Regions from separate parts of the Homo sapiens genome. Here regions 1 and 3 are each linked to region 2. The links are contacts of gene promoters, found by promoter capture Hi-C in blood cells and fetal thymus (Javierre and others, 2016). All regions are on one chromosome and are shown on one strand. The core of a region is centred on a gene start or on the middle of the fragment in contact, and the rest is flanking DNA. Distances in the headings are between cores, read along the strand shown.

Region 1 (3,726 bases), core at 121-2,620, 170 kb before region 2:
GTGAAGTCAGGCAGTAAAAACCAAACTCCTGGGCAGCTGCGTTTCTGCAATGCTCTAGTATATCTTTCTGGATCAAAATATTCACAAGGGAATTACTGAGCATTTCTACAACTGGTCCTTTGGCTAAAGTGCATCTTCCTACCTTTGACCTCGTGCTCCAATCGACTTTTCAAAACGCAATTTGGGATTCATCATTTCCAAAAAGCCTTTCCCACTTTCCACTTCATCCCCATCCCAACACGGATACAAACACACACACACACATACTGCCTTGAGCAGGCCTCCTCTAGTGCAGGGATAGTTACTCTCTTTCTGTTTACTGTGCCTCAGACAGTGGCTGGTGCCCTGCAGGTAATCAATGAGTTTTTTTTGTTGGTGTTTTTTTTTTTTTTTTTTTTTTTTGAGGTGGTGTCTCACTCTATTACCCAGGCTGGAGTGCAGTGGCATAATCTCAGCTCACTACAACCTCCACCTCCTGGGCTCAAGTGATTCCCCCACCTCAGCCTCCTGAGTAGCTGGGACTACAGGAACATGCCACCACACTCAGCTTTTTGTAGAGATGGGGTTTCACTATGTTGTTAAGGGTGGTCTCAAACTCCTGGGCTCAAGTGATCCACCAGCCTCGGCCTCCCAAAGTGTTAGGATTACAGGTGTGAACCACCTGGCCCTTTTTTTTAAATGCAGTTTTAAAATAGAACTTCTTCAAATCCAGCCATTCAGAGAAGCACCTAGTTTTTACTATATTTTTATCTTTGTTGCCTAGGAGCAGGGAAAGAGGGAAAAAGGGAAAAAAAACTAAAGGCAGGCTGTAGCGCAAATCCTCTGTAGATCCTTCCTTTAAATGCTAGAGCAGTGGTCCCCAAACTGCCATTGCTGGACTCCACCTCTAGAGTTTCTGATTCAAGAAGTCTGGGAAAGAAACCAACATTTTGCATTCCTAACAAATTCCTAGGAAAGGCTGATGCTGCTGGTCTGGGACCACACTTTGAGAAACAGTGCTCTAGAACCTGAGCTCTACTACTGCCCTATACCATGAAGAAGTTTGGGAAGCTTGTCTTCTGACTTGGTGGCTTCCATTCCTATCATGTACATTTCCTCTCCAACCTCAGATTTCTGATGTTTCCTCTCAGCCCCACATTATCATTGTTCTCTAGCTAGGTTGCTTTCAAACACCAAAAAGAAAAAGCACATGAGAAGGTTTCATATTGAAGTAAAAATAAATGGTAAAGCTTTCTTTTACATCAAAAAATCAACCTTTAAAAGGGAGTACAGGCCAGGCATAGTAACTTGCACCTGTAATCCCAAATCCCTTTGGGAGCCTAAGACTGGAGGATCGCTTGAGCCCAGAAGTTTGAGATCAGCCTGGGCAATATAGTGAGACTCCACTTCTATAAAAAATAAAATGTAAAACTATAATTTTTTTAAAAACAGGGAGTACACTTGTGTAAGCTAATAAAATGGAACTCCAGGAAGAGAGCTTCAGAGTTTATCTAGGTGAAAAAGAAGCTTTGCCCACAGGAAATTACACAATCCAACCCACATCCACCACTTGGGGATACATCCATCTCAGGGCAGGTATTAAGGTATTAAAACCCTGCCTGGATCATAATTTTAAGTCACTATCATTTGAAACAGCACATCTTGAGTTTTGCTTTTTGTAGGTGTGTGGTGATAGCTGGGACCACAGGCAGATATAAAGCAAAGTCACAATTCCTAGGAGCATGAAAAGCAGGGAGATGGGACTGTGGCTGGGAGATGGGACTGTGGCTGGGAGTATCTGAGAGGTGGAGGGAGGTTAAGATCTGGAGAGATCAAGGGGTACAGAGGAAGAAAAATTCTTTGTCAGGAAGAAGTAACTACAGCAGCAAAGTCAGAGGGATAGGAATAGAAGGCTGGCAGTGTTGGTTGCAGGGAACTGTGGGAGAAGAGGCAAGAAAAGGAGGAAGGGGGCAGATGGTAAGGACTTTGACAAGTGAAGAAATTTGACCTTGATAAATTGGGTTCTGACTGTATCTTACACAGTCTCCGCAAGGTGACCAGAATGACGTTTCTAAACGCAAATATGACCATGCCTTGCCTCTACTTAAATTCTTCAGTGGTTCCCAGTGCTGTCAAGACTGAATTGGAACTCCTTAGCAGAATCTGGGCTCCTGCATTCCTCTGCAGTTCCCACTCCAGAAACATCCTTGACCCATATCTCTCTCTCTCTCACACACACACAAACACCTCTGCGCTTCAGTTGTGTCACCCTAATCCTCCTGGGCGTTGCACACTCTCTCACTTCTGTGGGCTTCAACTTCCTCACCCTCTGCCTTCCCTCACACTCTCACCTGATTTAAGATTCTCTTTGATTTATTCTAGGATTCAGAAGAAGGGTGTAGCCGGGTGTGGTGGGGCTCGTCTGTGGTCCCAGCTACTCAAGAGGCTGAGGTGGGAGGATTACATGAGCCCAGAAGGTTGAGGCTGCATGAGCTATGGTCACACCACTGCACTCCAGCCTAGGCAACACAGTGAGCCCTGTCTCCAAAAAGAAAAAAAAAAGAAAAGGGTGTGTTCCCCACCTGTGTCCCTTCTGGGATCCATAACTCTGCATGGTCATTCATGTAAAGCCCCTTGTGCAGCAAACAGAGGATACATCTTTATCAGTTGATTGTCATTATCTGTTTCATTCTCTGTCTCCCCTCTTACACTGTGAGCGCCCTGAAAACAAGAATTGCATCCCTAGCACCTAAAACAATGCCTGACACACAGGCGGGAAATATTTGTGGAATTAACTTTGAAACAATGATATTATTTTTTAAAAAAATGTATTGGAATTTTGAAATAAAAATTAATCTATAAATTCAGAAAATACAGAAAAATACAAAGGAGCAAGTAAAAATCCCTTGTAATTGCTCTGCTCTGAGATAACCCCTTTCAGTTTATTTTGAGAATATTTGAGAATTTTTGAGAAAAGGAACACTATGTAAAAAATGGAACATAGGAAAAAAATTCTGACAACTGTGTGTCTCACAGAGAATGGAATTAAAAGACTAATTAGGACATTTAAGACTCAAGGTATGAGATGTTAAACTTATGGACTAGATGGGATTAGAAAAAGAATGAAGATGAGTGTGATAAGTAGTACATGAAATAACAAGACTTCAAAATTGATTAAAAGTGGTGGTGGGAGGGGAATAGAGTAAAGGAAGAGTATCAGGTGACCCTAAAAGTTAACAAAATGTTTGTTAAGTACATGAAAGAGTTGGAGATTGGATGAGTGGAAGTATTCTTCACTCTCTCTATCAAATATCTACTGGGCACATACTGCATCTAGGCACTGGTCTAGGTACTGGGATACGTCAATGAACAAAACAGCACAACCCATAACCCTTCTGGAGTTTCAGTTATGGTGGTGAAAATTATGGTACCAGTTAGAGAAATAGGCAGATTTAGACTGGGAGATAAATTTAAACAGTTCTTTAAAGCGTTTTGAAAGAGGCCGTGTCTTCCTTTAATTCCCTGAACGTATGTGTAGACTGAAATGGGTAAAGCATATTCAGAGCTGCCACACCGTAACGAGATGGGATCTTTCTGTCCAGCAAAGAGAGAAGACAGGTTGCGGGAGAGAGGGGAGTAGAAACCCCTAATTATGCAATGGCTGTTGTTAGGTCTGTGCCAGATGTGGATATGGGTGGAATTCCTTCTTGACAAAAACTGAAATTAGTGTATCTCTGAAAAGAAATC
Region 2 (4,084 bases), core at 362-2,861:
TTTGAACAATTTGGCAGGAAGCTGTCACATTTATATTAATACAAAGAATGGGTTGCTACATCTCTGCATGTCTACATTCTACCTCTTCATGATCCGGTTCAAATTCCACCTCCCTCATGAAACCTTCCTTGATTTCACTCCCTCCACACCACTGCTGTTTCCTCCAAACACCCACAGCATTTTATCCAAACCTCTATTAATTTATCTCCAATACTCTAGCACCCATCACAGCATGTGGCATGTAGTAGATGACAGGAAATGTTTACTGAATGAATGTAGGAATATACATCATTAACATTAATCTGCTGTCCAGATATGTTCTAACCCAAGACACCTTTCTTTGGATCATTTTCAAAGTTCCTAAGTGACCTCAGGAAAGATCAGAACTCCTTATCATAGCATCTCAAATACACTCTTTACATATTAATACATGCTATGTATCATACATGTAGACACATGCATTTATACACAAGAATACCTGCCTTTACCAAATATGTATGCATATATGTAAATGAGTATTCACAAAGACTGTGTATGATAACAAACTACATGCATGTGGACTCAGAATAAGTGGGACCAGGTTACATGATTTGAAAAGCATGCCCAGGGGCCTCTGACAAACAGTCTCCTATGTAGCCATATTGTCTGGAAATCTCTCAGTGTCTTACTCCTTGAAGATGTACAACATCTCATTCTCCCTCTCCCTTGTCTTCTGCCTGTGAATATAAGCCAAAGTATCCAGCTGTTGAAGGCCTAGAGCTGCTGCTCCACTATGGCCCAGCCAGAGACTCAAGTGGGAGACTACCATGCAGAGCTTATAGTAGCTCCCAGCTCAGTCTCTCTAAACATACCCTCTGGGGTTGAATCCTGGCCCCTCCACAAATGAAACATGTGACTTAAACAGGTCATCTAAATGTCTCTGGATTTGATTTCATCTGTAAAATGGAGATAGTAATAGCATCTCCCTCCCAAGGCTATGTGAAGATGGATTGGGGTAATATGTGGAACACAGTACAAATGTCTGGGCAATCATAATTTTTTAGCAAATGTTCATTATTATCATCATCAGTATTGTTCTCTTTATCTTTTCCATGGAAAGTCTAACTTATAGACTAGGGATTTTCTAATATGTTGATACCAAACCACATCCTCCAGAAGCAGCTCTAGGCCCCATACAAAGCCTGCTTTGTAATAACACAGTCACTCATTCTCTCCACATACAATGAGGGAGGGTAAGTACAGAGATTCTCTAGTTGGGCTCCTTGGTCCCAAGATATCTACCACAAACCTCAAAATATTCCCCTGCATAAGTTAATTCAACCTCAACATCTTACATAGTCAAAAAATGTATCCACATAACTTCAGGATTAGTCCCTTGTTCCTTTTCCTCAACCAATTTTGTAAAAGGAAATAACTAAAACATCCAAAAGCAAAGAGTAGAAAGTTGGAGTTTTGAAAGACTGTTGAAAGACTCCCCCATTTGGGGGTACTAAATCACATTATAAAATTGCAAAACTGTCAGAGTGTAATTAACCTATGTTGCTTCATATTCCTGATGCAGCAATTGTTTAAGACATGGCTTTAAAGAGGACTGCAAGAGAGCTGTGAGTGACACATGATGCTGTGAACGTCAGGGTGCTCGCCAGGGAAGGGCCCTACCCAGAGGGACAGAAAGAAAGCCAGGAGGGGTAGAGTTTGAAGAGAAGATCATGTTCTCCCTGAAGACGCTTCCATTTCTGCTCTTACTCCATGTGCAGATTTCCAAGGCCTTTCCTGTATCTTCTAAAGAGAAAAATACAAAAACTGTTCAGGTAAATGAACTATCAGTTAGGTGATGTTTGATTTGCTGATTATTAGGAAATAGTGTGGGTTGTTTTCTCTTGTTAATTAAAACAGCCTGAAAGAAATTATTTGGGTGATTAGTTTGAGATTGAACATCTCCTTTTAGTGATTTGGAGGGTTCCAAGCTGGTAAGGACTAGGCCTTTTAAAAGCCGGACATGAAAACAAGCTGAATTCTTTAAAGGCTGGGAAAATACTGCTGTAGAGTTACCCCTAGTTGGGAAACTTTTGTAGAAGAAATGGTTTTATTTATAAAATGGTATCATTTTCTTTCTCATTTACCTAAGGTTTTTCCTTCCAGGATATCTGCAATCAAGTTACTATATGTCTGGTGCTTCCATACAGGCATTTTCTTTGCCGCCAAAAATTCCAGATATAGAAAATAATGTGAGGATGGTAGATTACAATGAACTAGAAATCAGTACACAGTAAAATCATATTTCCCAGCATCAGATTGTGGACTGTTTATAAACTCTTGGAAGCATTATAAAAGCAGAACCAATAGTTTTTTTCCATTGTTTCACAGTCTGAAAGTGAACCCAAATTTTTAAGAAACACAAGGGAATTCTGTCACAAATCTCTCATGCACAGTTTTCTTAGCATTATAGTTTGGAGAAAGCATTATTATTATTAAGAGGTTATCTCTTAATTGTAACCCCCGGGTTAATGTAAAGTCCATTGAGTGCTTATTCTATGCAAGGCAACTGCTACACATTTCACAAATATCTCATTTAATCCTCACAAGAACCTTATTGGAGCATTATTATTTTCATTTCAGAGACAAAAATATCTTAAATCAGATAAATAATGTGGCCAAGTGCTCACAGTTAATTCATGGCAGAGTTAAGATTTGAACCCAGGCCTGTCTGATTCCAAAGCGTGTGATCTGGTCAGTGTCACCTACTGCTGTGGTTAGAGTGTGTCCCTTGAATTTATGTGTTAAAGATTTAGTAGCCCATGTGACAGTGGGTCCTTTAAGAAGTACTTAGGTCATTAAGAAAGATTAATGACACTCTTGTGTGACTGGATTAATTTTTGCTGGAGTGGGTTCTGGCTCTTGCAGAACTGGATTAGTAATTAATAGAATGGGTATTATAAAGAGGGGCTGCCCTTTGTGTTTTGCCCCTTTTCACACATGCTTGCTCCCCTTTTGTTTCTCTGCCATGTTATGACACAGCACAAGGCCATCTCAGAAGCCAACCAGATGCAGCCACCTGATCTTGGACTTCCCAGCCTCCAGAATTGTGAGAGAAAATCAGCCCCTTTTATGTATAAGTTACCCAGCTTCAGATATTCTGTTATAGCAACAGAAAATGGACTAAGACACTGACAAGGTGCCAGGTGTTCACAGGCAGCATGAGGTCTAGTTAGGTTACATTTCACTGTGTATGAAGAAACTTTTAAGCCAAACTTAAAATAGGTAATTTTTAGGCTAAACTCTTTGGATTTTGACTAAATTTAACACTTCCAAAGAGTTACTTTGGTGAATAAAATGCTAATATCAATGATATTGCTGTTCCCCTAAAAGATATTTGAAATTATTTTGAAATTATCAGTTCTCATTTGAGAGGCAACATGGTGAGTTAAAATCTGAATCATCACTTGGAAAATTCCTTAATTCTCTGTGCTTCTGTTTGTTCAGCAGAATAAATAAGCCTTTTCTACAGTAGTGAAGAGGATAAAAAAGAGGAACTGCACTGATGCAACAAATACCTCAAGAGAAGTCAATTAATGTTAGTCCTAATTTTTTTGTAAAAACAAGAAGACAGTCTCCTGACTGTAGAGTAGCACTTTGCCTGTGTGATGTGATCCTCATCCCTTATGAGACACCCTTTTTTATGCATAACCATTAACTGGAGCACTGAGTGGAGGAACTGTTCTTTCTAAAAAGAGTTGTTCTCTCAAAGCCAACCTACAAATTAATTTGTGTTATTGTTCCTGTGGCTGTCAAGTTATCAGACCTCTGTAGTAACTTAGAAAGGGTTGCAAAATGACCAGAGAACTGGAGGTCCTTTCACAGCAAGACCCCTATGTGCTTGTCTTTGTCCAGGACTACCTGGAAAAGTTCTACCAATTACCAAGCAACCAGTATCAGTCTACAAGGAAGAATGGCACTAATGTGATCGTTGAAAAGCTTAAAGAAATGCAGCGATTTTTTGGGTTGAATGTGACGGGGAAGCCAAATGAGGAAACTCTGGACATGATGAAAAAGCCTCGCTGTGGAGTGCCTGACAGTGGTGGTT
Region 3 (4,109 bases), core at 481-2,980, 170 kb after region 2:
GGCTGCAGTGCAGTGGTGCGATCATAGCTCACTGCAACCTCTGCCTCCTTGGCTCAAGTGATGCTCCCACCTTAGTCTCCTGAGTAGCTATTACCACAGGTGCATGCCCCCACATCTGGCTAATTTTTAAATTTTTTTTGTAGAAACAAGAGTCTCACATGTTTCCCAGGCTGGTCTCTTTCTCCTGGGCTCAAGCGATCCTCCTGTGTCGGCCTCCCAAAGTGCTAGGGTTATAGGCATGAGCCACCATGCCCAGACTAGAGGTAGCATTTTGAACTAATTAGTCAGAATGCAAATACAACTCTGTGAAATAGCTGAAGTATTGTCACTAAATTTTTATCAATAAAATATAAAGAGGATCATCCCTAAGAAAAAATCTAATTTAATAGTTGCATATAGCAGGGAATACAATTCAAGTAATACCTGCAATGTTAACTTAGTAAACTAAATCTCGTTAGGAAGATTCCCCTCCATGACACTATTATGGTCACTGTCCTCTGTACATACTGCCACGGCCACAGACACCACGTAAACCTGCCTGATACCCTTACCATCTTAGGCAGCAACCATACAGCCTTCAGGGATGAGCCCCAGGAAGAGGGCTTCCAACATGGAATTTCCCACCCTTGCTTTATTACATGGCTACTGCAGAGCCCAATATGAGAGAAGTCAATCAAGTGGTACCTGAAGGCAGCAAGTACACTACATTTTCTGAACTCTCTTGTCATGAATTTTTCATTGCCTCGGTCTAAGCTAGTCCTTGTACTGGAAAATAGGCTGCCTGGGAGACTTCCCAGAGCACTGACTATGCCCAGAGCACTGACATAATGACATAAAAGAGTGCATTTGTATTGACTGCCTTCCTACAGCAGGCAAAATGGTTGTCGCAAAGTCACATCTTTCCTTTTTCTCAGAGTTGGCAATCTCTGAAAAGTGGTTTGTGAAGCTCGCTCCACCTAGAAGCAGGGTGATATATGGGAAGAATATAAAGTTGATGGTCACTCCTCTATGTTCAAATCCTGTCCGACTTTATAAACTTGCTCAAATTACTCCTTGAGTTTGTTTTCCTGAATGAAAAATGGGGATGCTAAACACAGTAAACCGTTTGCAGAAATGGCCACAGTAATTCTTACCAGCCCTGTACATGTGCCCACTTAAATGTGAATTTGCCACTCCTTTTATATTGAAGTGGAATTTATTTTTTTATTCCTTAAATCTAAACTTCAATTTGGGCTTGAATAGGGCATTATCAAATGTAATGCAAGCAGAGGATTGAAAAATATGTACACATTGGAGCTTGAGTTGTCTTGCTGTTAGAAACCCTGAGACCACCATGTGAAGAATTATCAGCTAGTCTTCCAGAGAATGGGAGGTTATACAGAGAGAAGTCAGCCATTTAAGCCATTTTAGCTGCCTCAAAAGTCCCAGCCTTCCCAAACATCCCAGCCAACCATAGATACCCAAAAGCTAGATAAAATGTTTATTTTAAGCCACTGTGTTTGGAGTGATTTATTACATAGCAAAAGCTGATACAATAAAATAATGATTACTAATGTGCATAAAACGTGTTACATGGTGTTAGTTCAATAAATGACTACACAAATAAATATTAAGTGACTTAGTACAATTTAAGCTTGTTGTAGAAAAGGAAAAATTATCTCTACCACTGAAAATATTTCCTATCACATAATAGCCTCCTAATAATTTTTTGAATACATTGACAGAGACTAGTTGCCATTCTTTCTCACAGCACAGAATTGCTTTAATGTAATGAAGAATATATTTCAAGATCTCTCAAGGGCCTGTAGGGTAAAGAAGGAAAGCTTCACCTTTGCCCTCTGAAGGTTTGCTGAAAATAAACTGACAAAAGGCAGATTAATAGGAGAAAAAGTCATAAAAAATGTATTTAATGTGCATAAGCATGGGAGAATCACAGGAAAATGATTGCCCAATAATCCAATGAGGTCCGGATGCTTATATAGCCTTCTTCATACAGCACGGAGTAAATAACAAAGTTCCTTTGAGCTCGGAGGGAGGTGGTGAGAAGGCAAGGGGCAGAACTTCACAGTGAACAAAGGTAGTCTTATTATCCAGTTAAAGCTTCCCAGTTAATCTCCTGGAGCTGCCCTCAGAAGAATAGATGGAAAGTCTGTTTAGGCATGGTGATGACTCCCAGTATCTCCTCTTCTCTAGTGGTTAATCTTTTCTGGTTATTTCATGTGATTCTTAGGAGGGATATTTTAAGACAATTGCAATTCTCCTTGTAAGAAGCTTTCTTAGTCAGAGAAGAAAATTCCACAGAGTCCCTTCTTTCTTCATGAAGAAAAAGGATCAGAGAGACAGGGAGGAAGGGGAAGGTCAGAGAAAGACCTTGGTTCTGAGGCTTATTTCTAAGCTCCTTCAATTTTCTTTAATTCCAAGCACTCAACATGCCAAAGCACCATATTTTGGGGTATTGCTTTCTGTACCCCAAAAGGCCTCACAACTAAATTTTCAGTATATCTAATATTTTTTACTTAGATTTTCTGTTCTTTAAAGGTACACTGTGGTCTAGATCAATGTGAGTTACTAAATCCATATTGTTGGTAAAGTCTACTATTGCTATTTTATAATAGGATAGAAAAAGATTATAAAGTATCACCAAAGTTCTGAAATGGAAGTCTTAATGGAAAGGACTGCTTCTTTACCCAGGAAGAGGGTAAGTTTTGAAGAGTGTCTCTGTCTCTCAGAAATAAGATCCAAGGGGAAAAAGAAGTTCGGTAAGGTTTCCAGTAACTTCCAGCTATAACACAAAATGGAGGGAGTCAGGATGTTAGATAAGCCAACTGCTTTGTAAGATTTTACTTTGTTAGATTGGGAACATTAGTAGTTTTCCCAAGCTCGTTATCTATGCTATACTTATTTCTAAATAAGAATAAAACCCTTGAAATGAAACAAGCATGTATAATATACATTCTTTTTTGTTTGATTCCTTTTGCTCATCATTATGTCTGAAAGTCTTATTCATACTGCTGCATGTAGGTATAATTTGTTCATTCTCACTGTTGTTTAGAATTTAATTGTATGAATATATTACAATGATTTGTAATATGTTTGTCCATTCTGTTGCTAATGGACATTGGGTTGTTTCCCTGCTTTAACTGTTGCAAACGGTGCAACTATGAATATTCTTGTGAGTATCTATTAGTGAAACTCCATGTGGTAGAGAGCTTCTAAAACAGTTCTTAATGGTTCCTGCCTCTGGCTATTCTTGTCCTGTGTAATCCCCACCCTTGTGTGTGAAGTGGATGTAGTGATTCATAACAAACAGAATATGGCAAACATGATGGAGCGTTGCTCTCTAAGATTAGGTTATTAAAGGCCATGACCTTGGACTTGCTGGGGATCTCTCTCTCTCTTGCTCATTCTCACTCTCACTCTTCTTGCTTGCTTTCTCTGATGAAGCCGCTGCCTTGTTTTGAGCTGCCCTATGGAGAGTCTCAGTGGCGAGGAATTGAGGACAGACTTCTGTACGGACCTGAGGTCATCATTCCAACAACACATGAAGAGCTGAATCCTGACAACAACTTCATTGGTAAGCTTGGAAGTGGATTTTCCCCCAAACAGGCCTTGAGGTGACCACAGCCCTGGCTGACTGCAGCCTTGTGAAATACCCTGAGACAGAAGACCCAGCTCAGCCACACCTGAACTCCTGACCCACAGAACCTGCTATAATAAATGTTGTTTTGGCTATTACGTTTTGGAGTGATTTATTATTAGATAACTAATACGTATGCATTTGGGAAAGTAAAGGCCTAAGAGTATATGGAAGTGGAATTGTTTGGCCATAATCTATGCATACGTTCAGCTTTAATATATACCACTAAATTGTTTTCAAAAGCAGTCATTGTCATGTACACTCCCAACAGCAGTGTGTGAGAGTTTTTATTGAGTTCTACTGAATGATCTTTGTTATTAAGCTTTTAGTATATGCCAGCCACTAAGTGCCTTACATGTGCTGTTTCATTTAATCTTCACAACAGTTCAGTGAGGTGGGTATTACTGTTTTCTCCATTTTCAGATTAAGTGAACCTGCCCCTGTCATTTACTAAAAAGAGGCAAGCCAGGAT

Evidence for each region. Contacts are between HindIII fragments. The CHiCAGO score rates a contact against its expected background, and 5 or more counts as called.
Region 1: a contact is called between a fragment that was not itself captured here and the fragment with the promoter of MMP8 in region 2, in 2 of 17 cell types (M1 macrophages and M0 macrophages). The highest score is 8.0, in M1 macrophages.
Region 3: a fragment that was not itself captured here is called in contact with the fragment with the promoter of MMP8 in region 2 in 1 of 17 cell types (M1 macrophages); the score reaches 5.2 in M1 macrophages.

Annotation. Positions count from the first base shown.
Region 1 is chr11:102,889,118-102,892,843 of GRCh38, reverse strand. No RefSeq gene overlaps it. Among named protein-coding and RNA genes, the nearest start is that of MMP12, 16 kb to the right of the region's middle. The HindIII fragment of the contact is 277 bases long and covers 1,232-1,508 here.
Region 2 is chr11:102,722,481-102,726,564 of GRCh38, reverse strand. MMP8 (matrix metallopeptidase 8) reads left to right here and starts at 1,611. Exons shown (of 10, transcript NM_002424.3): 1 at 1,611-1,811; 2 at 3,892-4,084. The coding sequence starts at 1,710. RefSeq lists an enhancer at 1,205-2,404. The HindIII fragment of the contact is 5,644 bases long and covers 1-3,977 here.
Region 3 is chr11:102,553,301-102,557,409 of GRCh38, reverse strand. No RefSeq gene overlaps it. Among named protein-coding and RNA genes, the nearest start is that of MMP7, 25 kb to the right of the region's middle. The HindIII fragment of the contact is 190 bases long and covers 1,636-1,825 here.